Linked DNA regions of Homo sapiens: all the other regions are linked to region 3. The links are contacts of gene promoters, found by promoter capture Hi-C in human tissues and cell types (Jung and others, 2019). All regions are on one chromosome and are shown on one strand. The core of a region is centred on a gene start or on the middle of the fragment in contact, and the rest is flanking DNA. Distances in the headings are between cores, read along the strand shown.

Evidence for each region. Contacts are between HindIII fragments. The study calls those that stand out against the background at their distance.
Region 1: a fragment that was not itself captured here is called in contact with the fragment with the promoter of SCPEP1 in region 3 in 1 of the 25 tissues and cell types used here (heart right ventricle).
Region 2: a contact is called between a fragment that was not itself captured here and the fragment with the promoter of SCPEP1 in region 3, in 1 of the 25 tissues and cell types used here (hippocampus).

What each region holds. Positions count from the first base shown.
Region 1 is chr17:57,602,756-57,605,824 of GRCh38, reverse strand. All of the region lies in intron 8 of MSI2 (musashi RNA binding protein 2), which reads right to left. All of the region lies in intron 2 of MSI2-AS1 (MSI2 antisense RNA 1), which reads left to right. Among named protein-coding and RNA genes, the nearest start is that of MSI2-AS1, 4.1 kb to the left of the region's middle. RefSeq lists enhancers at 1-611, 2,266-2,765. The HindIII fragment of the contact is 4,868 bases long and covers 1-3,069 here.
Region 2 is chr17:57,622,238-57,625,231 of GRCh38, reverse strand. The region is part of intron 9 of MSI2 (musashi RNA binding protein 2); the gene reads right to left. Among named protein-coding and RNA genes, the nearest start is that of MSI2-AS1, 15 kb to the right of the region's middle. The HindIII fragment of the contact is 6,327 bases long and covers 1-2,994 here.
Region 3 is chr17:56,976,473-56,979,606 of GRCh38, reverse strand. SCPEP1 (serine carboxypeptidase 1) reads right to left here and starts at 1,476. Exons shown (of 13, transcript NM_021626.3): 1 at 1,372-1,476. The coding sequence starts at 1,447. RefSeq lists a silencer at 1,534-1,593. The HindIII fragment of the contact is 4,443 bases long and covers 1-3,134 here.

The sequences.
Region 1 (3,069 bases), core at 309-2,808, 630 kb before region 3:
AAGAGGGAGAAAATAAAAGGTATGGCTTGAGCCTTCTTTTCTAGGCAGAGGCAGCTGAAAGAAGAGGGCAAAGGAAGAACCAGGGACAGAACTCCCAGGCCCTGGGGAAACTAGAGTGAAACTAGAAGAGAAATTGGCAAGAGTCCAGGCAAGAGCCACGCTACTCTGGGCTTGGTCTCTGCAGCTGCATACGGGCGCAGACTGTTCATGCCCTGCCTTCTGCGCGGGGAAGAGGCAGAAGAGAAGGGGGGGCAGCCCCTCCTAGTGGTCTCCATGCTCCCCTCTCATGACCCTGCGCCCTGGGGGTGGAGTACGGGGACGCTGGTGGCAGCACGTTCAGAAAAGCCCAGAGGCACTGGGTGCTGAGATACTGAGGAGACAGACCACTGCCCTCCCTGGCCCTGCCTACACTGACATCGCCAGAGGACAGATGAAGGGCAAGCGAACCACTCAGGCAACTGGGAGGCCACTCCCTGCAGGCCAAATTACTTCTGCCTAAAGAGCAACAAACATTTACCACCGAACCACCCGGCCTCCCCCAACACACTAATCACTCTGCTCTCATTAACACAGCCTGTACACAAACAGCATGTGCACGCGCTTGCGTGTGTGATGCGTGGGGGGCAGGATCTCTCCCTCTCCCACGTAAACACCAGATTCATTTATTAAATGCCTCTCTGGCATTTCCTTTTTTGCCTTCATCCTGCTTGTTTAATATTGCATTTGACATTCTCATTTTATAAATGGCAACAGAAGCAGAATGGATGGCTAAAATTAGCTTACGAGTGAGAATGATGCTACAAATAGGATTGTGAATACAGAAGCCTAGTTAATTCCACCCACATTACCCGCCCCCCTCCCCACACACAAATACACCCACCACTTTTGGGCTGGTTCCCGACTGAGTTGTCTTCAGGGCTGAGGAGGAGCAGCTGGAAGGAGTGGGGGGGTGAGCCAATCACTGGGCACCTTGCCAGGTGGCAGGGCCCAGAAGCCGACCCTAGCCTGCGGCTGGCCTCCATGGATGGGCTGGTCACAGCACCGCAGCCCTGAGTCCAAGAGGACAGCTCAGGACCCTCCTCCCTTCTTATCCTTCTGCCCTTCCTTCCCCAGAATCCCCTGTTCCGAGTCAATCCCCCAGGTATGCCCTGGGCTGAAGGGTAGCAGGCCTAAGATCTCAGTAGGCTTTGCTCTTAGAAGTGGATTTTTCTGGAACCTTCTTAAAGAATGAGTCAGGTGAAGAGTGGGACTCAGCTTTTCCAGGACCTAGACAATCACATCTCTTGGTTCCTCCTGCTTTGGGAGGTGCACCACCTCCTTTCCTAGGACCATCCCCAGAGGCACTGAGAGTGCCCACCTCATACTCTCCATCCCTGCCCCGCAGGCTCGGGACCCAGTCCTGCCCAGGTCCCGCACCACTTGCATTTTACTGACTTATAATCTGCTGAGGACCTCCTTACCTGCTAACTCTTTATTTGCTCAGTAAAATAATTCTAAGAATGATGACAATGACGACAGTGGTGAAAAAATCTATCACTCTGATAGAGAGCGTGCCATGGCCTGGCTCTGTTCCAAACCCCTTACAAGTCTTAAGTCACAGCACTCTCCGAGGTAGGCACTACCACAACCTGTTTTATAGAAAGGGGAACCACAGAGCCGAAACACAGAAGTAACTTGCCCAAGGCCACAAAGCTGGGAAGTGGAAGGGGGTTCAGCACTGAGGACTTGAGGCACCCTCTACCAGGAAGGCCGCCCTGGTTGACAGCACCCTGTTCTGACCATTGTGTCACTCCCCACCTGGGGGCTCCCCCAAAGAATGAAGGCACTGATACTTTCCACAGGCTGCTATCCCCAAACTCGTGTGCCTGTTTGGGGCACCCCCTTTCTACTCTGCCCCTAATAATGTGTGCTCAATAGTGAAACTGGCTGACCATTTGGCTAAATGCCTTTCATTGGACCCCTGTAGACAAGGAGCACCCTGACTGGGCCTGCTCTGAGCTAGATTAGTTTAGTCCAGGAGTCAACAAACTGTGGCCAGCAGGCCAAACCCAGCTGCCATGAGTTTTTGCAAATAAGCTTTATTTGAACACAGCCACGCCCCTTCATTTATATATTGCCTGGACTGTGTTTGTGCTACAATGGCAGGGCTGAGTAGATGTGACAGAGACTCTCTGGCCCGTTACAGAAAATTTGCTGGCCCCTGGCTTAGGCCCAGTGGGGGAAACGTGAAGTTATCAAGGGCTGATTCCTTCAAGGCTACCCAATTACATACCCTACAACAGAACAGGCCGAGACCTCCAGGTATCAAAGCAGAGCTTTATATAAGCTGCAAAAGGCAGCCATCCTCAACCTTCTGATTTCCCACAGGAGCAAACTGGTGCAGACAGGTAGGGCACTCGCCTGTGGTTACAGAATCACCAGCGGTGGACCTGGGATTCAGGCTCAGGTTCCAAGGCTCTCTTGGTGCCTCTAAGTGACCCAGCAGGTCCCGACTTGGGGACAAGGACACGTGCACCTCACTCAGGAGAATCGAGCCCTTTACCCCAAGAGATGCATGCCTCACGTGTCTTCTGCAAGCAATGCTCCAAGGCCTGCACCCAGAGGGGTAGGGCATGGTGAGGGGCGGGAGCAGTCTCTGGCACTGAGAGCTTCCTCTGGGAGATCTTCGGAAATCTGGTCTCTGTTTGACCATAGAGGGAGTATGGAGTGGTGCCAAGAGCACCAGACTGGCCTGGAGGTCCAGGTGCCAGGCCTGGTTTGGCCCCATTTGGCCTGGCTCCGTGCTCCCTTCATTCCCAAGTCCCTTCCTTCTGATGATGATGGCTGGGCAATTTATGACCCACAAGTCCCACATTATCTGTCATTAGCAGTGGCCCTTGCCTGGTGCTTCTCAGACTTTAATGTGCACGCCAATCACTGGGGATTTGTCAGCATGCAGATTCTGACTCTGTAGGTCTAGGGTGGGTCCTGGGACTCTGCATTCCTAACCAGCTCCTAGGGGCTGCCAAGGCTGCTGGTACATGGACCACACTTTGATTACCAGCATCCAGACCTCTCATTCCAAGACAA
Region 2 (2,994 bases), core at 483-2,982, 650 kb before region 3:
ACCATGCCCTTGGGGGTTGTTATGATTTGATGTATGTGTTTCCCCCAAATTTCTATGTTGAAATCTTAACCCCCAAGGTGATGGCCTTAGGAGATGGGGCCTTTGGGGTGTGATGAGGCCATGAGGTGGAGCCCTCATGAATGTGCCCTTAACAAAGAGGTCACAGAGAGACCCTCACCCCTTCCAACACGTGAGGACACGGTTAGAAGGGGCCATCTATGAGGAAGCGGGCCCTCACCAGACACAGAATCAGCCAGCACCTTGATCTTTACTTCCCAGCCTCCAGAACTGTGAGAAATAAATGTTTGTTGTTCATAAGCCACCTCGTCTATGGTAATCTGTGACAGCAACCCGACTTAAGATAGGAGTCTTCCTTTTTCTCTTGGAGCTTAGTCTTGTCACCTGTAGAAAGCCTTGTGGGTCCCTTGCAACAGTGACGTGCCCAAATTCTTGAGTGAGACCAGCTGTGGCTCCTTTCCCTTGCTTCCCCCAGAACCTTCCCAAATTTGCAGTCACAGCTCACTCACTGAATGGAACTGTCTCTACCTCCACAGGGTCTTGCCACCTGCTCCTTCCTGTGCACTTATTTCCCGGTGCTTGGTGACTCATTGACAGAAGCCTGCCCAAGCGAGGCAGAAGGACCCAGCAGCTCTGCACTGACTGCTAGCTAAGGAGCAGGAGCCCGGTGGGATGTTGAGCTCAGCAACCCGACGGAGAAAGAAGGAAGGAAGAACAGCAAAGGCCAGGGCTCAGATGCCTTAAATGGACACATGCATACTGGCGCCTTCCTTCGTATTTATTTCGTGGCTAGGCAGCTCAGTTCTCCTCCAAATTAATCACCTGCTAGCAAATCAGATCTTGTACTAGATTTCTTATACCATGATTTCAACAATATTGATAAATGGATTATATGCAAACAGCCAAGTCATGGCTGCCTAGGGGCTTTCCAGATGAAAAATGGCTCCTTTGCTTCTAACTTCAGAGCTGGGGGTCTTAAATATTTTAGTGTTAATCTGACAGCAAAAGCATAAGCCTATGTGTCACCTTCCCTCAGGGAGGGTGGGAAGTGGCAGAGCAGCCAGTTTCTCCCTGCACTTAGGTGACAAATACAATGCAATTATACCTGCTTTCTTCCTGGCTTTCCTACAAGGCTTCAACGAGAAAGAAGAAAAGCATGGTCAAGTTCACCCCAACTTTGGGTCTCACCCCACTCTTCCTGGACACATCAATACTATAGTCTCCCAAACCACAAAGATGAGAATTCGGCATCTGCCAGAGCGGGGGATCTTATCTCCACCCCCAATCGCCGAACATCCTCTAGGTCAGGCAGATGAAATCATAAATTTATAATACAACATTACTTCAATTTTCCTCTTCATTTACTGCTGTGCAGCCCAGCTCTGCTCGAATGGTTCACAGCCCCAGCCACACGGGGGAAATTGGCTGGCTGCATATCAATAGCACATTACAGCAGACCCGTGCAGACGCTCCGTCAAGCCACATTACGGTGGGATGACCCAGCCACCACTTCCATTAGCAGCCTGGCCCCTCCCACACTGGCCACTGCACAATTTATCTGCTCCAATACTCTGGACGCCTGATCAATCCCACAGTAATTATCTCTTGTCACTAAAGTAAAAAAAAATCAAGGCTTCTGCCAGGGTGACCACCTCTCTTGCAGATCGGCTTTCCATTGCAGAAGCAAAAATACAGAAATCAACAATAGAATTTGGATTTGCCACTGAGCTCATTTTGAGTCCCCATTTTGGGGATGCTGACAAAGTTGTCAAAACTGTGGTTCTGGTTCTAGATCTTTGCTGCAACCCTAGAGATGTTTCCCTTCTAGACGGGTCCATGACTCATCTTCTCCCGGGCTCTGTTACTCAGCTACTCAGAGTCATGGAAAACGGCTCCCACCAGGCCCCAGACTTGAAAGAGACAAGAGACAGGGCTGTTTATCCAGGGAACTGCCAGAGTGTGACATATCTGCTGCGTGATGTTTAGAGCACTGCCTGGGGCACCTCATCGGCTCCATGAGGTCTGCAAACAGACTAAACACCAAGTGCCAAGAGTCCTTCCTAGGCAAGGACGCGAAGGCTAAAGTCTACAAAGATGCTTTGCCCCCAGAATCACCCTGAGTTGCAGGGGCTCCTCCAGACCTGCGCCGTCCAATTTAAATTTAATTCAAATTATCTAAAATGAAAGCTCCAGTTCCTCATTCGCAAAAGCCACAACTCAAGGGCTCAGCAGCTACCGTGCACAGGCGGCTAGTGATATTGGCTAGTGCAGACAGGACCTTCCCTCCCTTGCAGGAAGTTCTATTGGACTGCACTGCTCTACAGGGACAATGAAGAGCTGAATTCTGAGTTTCCTCTGTCCACCAGGAAGCGGCTAAACAAAGGAACACTTCCTTGAGAATAACCTAAACAGATATTTTTGGGAAAGCCAGATCCCCGTCGAAATTGAGTGTAGATATGTGGTTTTAAGTTCCAGCCAATCTCCAATCTTTTGATCTGTTAGTGAACGCCAGCAGATTACAGCTTCCTAGTGCCTGTTCTTAACGATACTTTTTTTTTTTGCTCACATTTCAGGGGGCTTAATGTCAGGGAACACTGAGTCAGGACTTCACGCGGGGCTTCTCAGTACGACTGCACCTAAGAATGCTTTTGGCTAACGTGCTTTAGCTGATCATCAGCCTCTCTTCGTTTCTGGGCCTGCTAGGGTGAAGCTTTTCTTTGAGGGCTCAGCAATGTGCTATTTCTCTAACACTCGTATCAGCATGTTAAATAAACAGCATGTGCCCAACGAGGCCAAGAAAGTTAAAGGCAGTGGGATTATGTGGCAGAGAAGGCTCAGAGAAATAAAATATATCAACAATCATCATGTGTTTGCTTTTATTAAGTTCACCTTCATTAAGAAAAATGAAAGAGATTCTATCACATTGAGCTGGATAACTGTGGGCACCTCTTGGTGCGGTGCCGCAAAGTCTGAGGG
Region 3 (3,134 bases), core at 227-2,726:
TCTAGCATCCACAAAATATGTTTTAGAAAAGAGTAGGCTAAATACATTTTCTTTGTCACTTTTTGCTAACGTAACAATTTCCAAGTTATAGCATCTTTTTTTTTTTCCTCCAAAACCACTCTGGGAAAAAAAAAAGTAGAGGGGCTGTTGTTAAAAGATGATGGGGGGGATCCCCTCGGTGACTGGAGTTTTCTGCCTTCTATTTCCTCCCTTCTCAAATTTCAAGCCCCATTGGTCAGTAAAAGAACACTGGTCCCAACAGCTAAAGAGACAGGAGTAGAGAGGAAGACAATGAGACAACGTCTTGTAAATAAGAAAGAGCCAGGGTGGTGGCCTGTGTCTGCAGTCCGGGCTACTTGGGATGCTGAAGTAGGAAGATCACTTGAGTCAGGCAGTTCCAGACCAGCCTGGGCAACATAGTGAGACCCTGACTCAAAACAAAACAACAATGAAGATTAAGAAAACCAGAAAGTGTCCTGAGGAGCAAAACAGATGACTAAAACATTACAGACTTAGCTATAAGGTTCTATATACAAGTAACACACGATTATATTGTCCTTGACAATAACAGATAAGGCTGCGCTCCCTTGAGAATGACAGATAAGGCGCAGGTACCTTTTGACCTAACCCCAGGCACTTCTCCCTTGCCTGGCAGTGACTACTGGTAAAATTGGCAGAGCTACTTATTTTACAAAATCTCCCAGACACTCGCCTAAGGGCCAGATGATCCCCATTTTAGAAAAGGAAAACAAAACTGTTCAACAACTTGCCTAAGGTCACAAGGCAAGCTTGTGGCCAGTTCCAATTCTCAGTGCTTGCTTCAGACTAGGAGAGGTTTTGCTGAAAATCAATTTGCAAGTCATCCTATTAAACACAAATCTGTTTTTTGCCAAAAAAGATCGCTGTGGGGGAAGATGTTATCTTGTTTGTTTTGATCAAGAAAAGAAAGGGCCTTATCTCAATGAAATGTCCCATTCGTGGTAGGATGTAAGGGTACTTTTGACCGCAGATTTCAGCTTAAAATAAAACGACCTTATATCCTCATTTAGCAGCCAATCATGGCCTTTGAATCGGGGAAACCTCATTGACCAGCAGTTTCCCCAAATCATACATTTCTGCACACAGCTTCTATCTAGGCGTAGGAGAGAACGGAAGCACTCAGACCACCCAGAGCCAGAAAAGGACAAAAAAAGCACTTTGAATTTTTTAAGGAAAAAAAAAAAAAAGAGTGAGATTCAAAAGCAATATAATTACACAAGGTAAGAACCGGGGAAAAGAGACATGTTTTCAAAAGCACAAACCCAGTAACAAACTCTCACGCCTGGAGAAAAAAGAGGCATGGCAGCTGGTGCGCCTCTTGCTTGAACCTACCTGCGTTCAGGCCCAGCAGCAGCGGCAGCAGCAGCAACCACCGCGGGACGGGAGAGCGCCGCAGTGCCAGCTCCATGACAAGTACCGCACGGCAGCATCAGCAACAGGCTGGACCCGGCGCCCCATCACGTGACGGAGGCGGACGGGGCGGGTCGGGGGCGGGGCCTGCGGGTCGGGGGCGGGGCCTGAATGGGCATGGGGCGGGGCCTGGGCGGACCCGGCAGCTTGCTGAGACCCGCACGCCCTCTGCCCGGCAAGCCCACCAGGACCCCTGCAAATGCGCAGGGGCCGTTCTGTCCGCCTGGCCAGGTTCTCTGTCATTTTAGGGAGAGTATTTCGGAAAGGAGACATTTGATGCAGATGTTGGATTTAGGTTGTGTGACCGGATCGAAATACTAAAGGGAATAACCACCGCCCTTTCTACCCCTCCCATCTCTTCCTTCCCTCAGCAAAAGAACCGACGTTTTCCAACACTGCTACATCTGCGAAGTCAGATTAAGCCAGCTGGTCGTTGGCAAACAGCGGGGTTTCATTTTCAGATATGTATTTTTTAAATTATTTTTCTTTTAAAGTTATGTATGTTATAAACGTTTTGGAAATATGAACAAAAAAGTTATACATAACTATTGTTGGCATTTTTTCCCATAGTCTTTTACGTCATTTTAAAAAACACTAATAAAGATTTTTATTTTTTTTTTCTTTTTTGATAATTTGTCATTAGTATTACTCTGTGTTACGTTATCTTCACAGCAGTCATTTTAAAGAGAGAATCGAGGGTCTGGGGACGGGAAAGGAAGAAAAAGTGGATGACAGAGCTGTTTTCCTCTGTGTGTGTGTGTGTGTGTGTGTGTGTGTCTGTCTGTCTGTCTGAAGGTCATTTTTACGTTAGAGGGTACTGAATAACTCACCTCACAGCTAGGAGACAAGCTACAGCAGGGGCTGTAGGAGAGGCTACTTCTAAATACTGCTTCAAAAGTACATGTAACAAAAAGCAAAAAACAAATCAAAGTACATGTGGCCACTTCTCCTCTTTCCCTGCTCCTTTCTCCCTCCCCTCGCCCTTGACCCCCATAAATGGAAGTGCTTTTTACTCTGCAGCCATTGTCTGGACAGAGCCTTGACCCCGCCCTGCCTGTGAGGTGCCCCTGCACTGAAAGCTGCGGCAGAGAAAAATATGCCGCCGGGTTCTGTCATGCTTTAAGCATGGGATGGTCCCGAATGCATAAAATCCATAATGCCTGGGCAACATATTGAGACCCCCTCTCTACAAAAAATAACAAAAATTAACTGATGTGGTGACACGCGCCTGCTGTCCAAGCTACTCAGAAGGCTGAGGTGGGAGGATCACTTGAGCCCAGGAGCTCCAGGCTGCAGTGAGCAGGTGTTCCATGCCATATGGGAGATACATAAAAGTACATGCTTAGTTAAAAATAAATAACTATCTAGCAAACTTTTCCTGTCTGAAGCTTCCAAGTTGGTCTGTATCACTAGGGCTTGAAATACACTTACCCTTCCACTGCAGTCAGAATTTTAGGGTTTCAATTTTTTTGCCACAAAAATAACACTACAGCCCAGGGCGCAAGGTGGCTCACACCTGTAATCCCAGCACTTTGGGAGGCCGAGGTGGGCAGATTACTTGAGGTCGGGGGTTTGAGACCAGCCTGGCCAACATAGTGAAACCCCATTTCTACAAAAATACAAAAATTAGCTGGGTGTGGTGGCACTTGCTTGTGGTCTTAACTACTCGGGAGGCTAAGGCATGA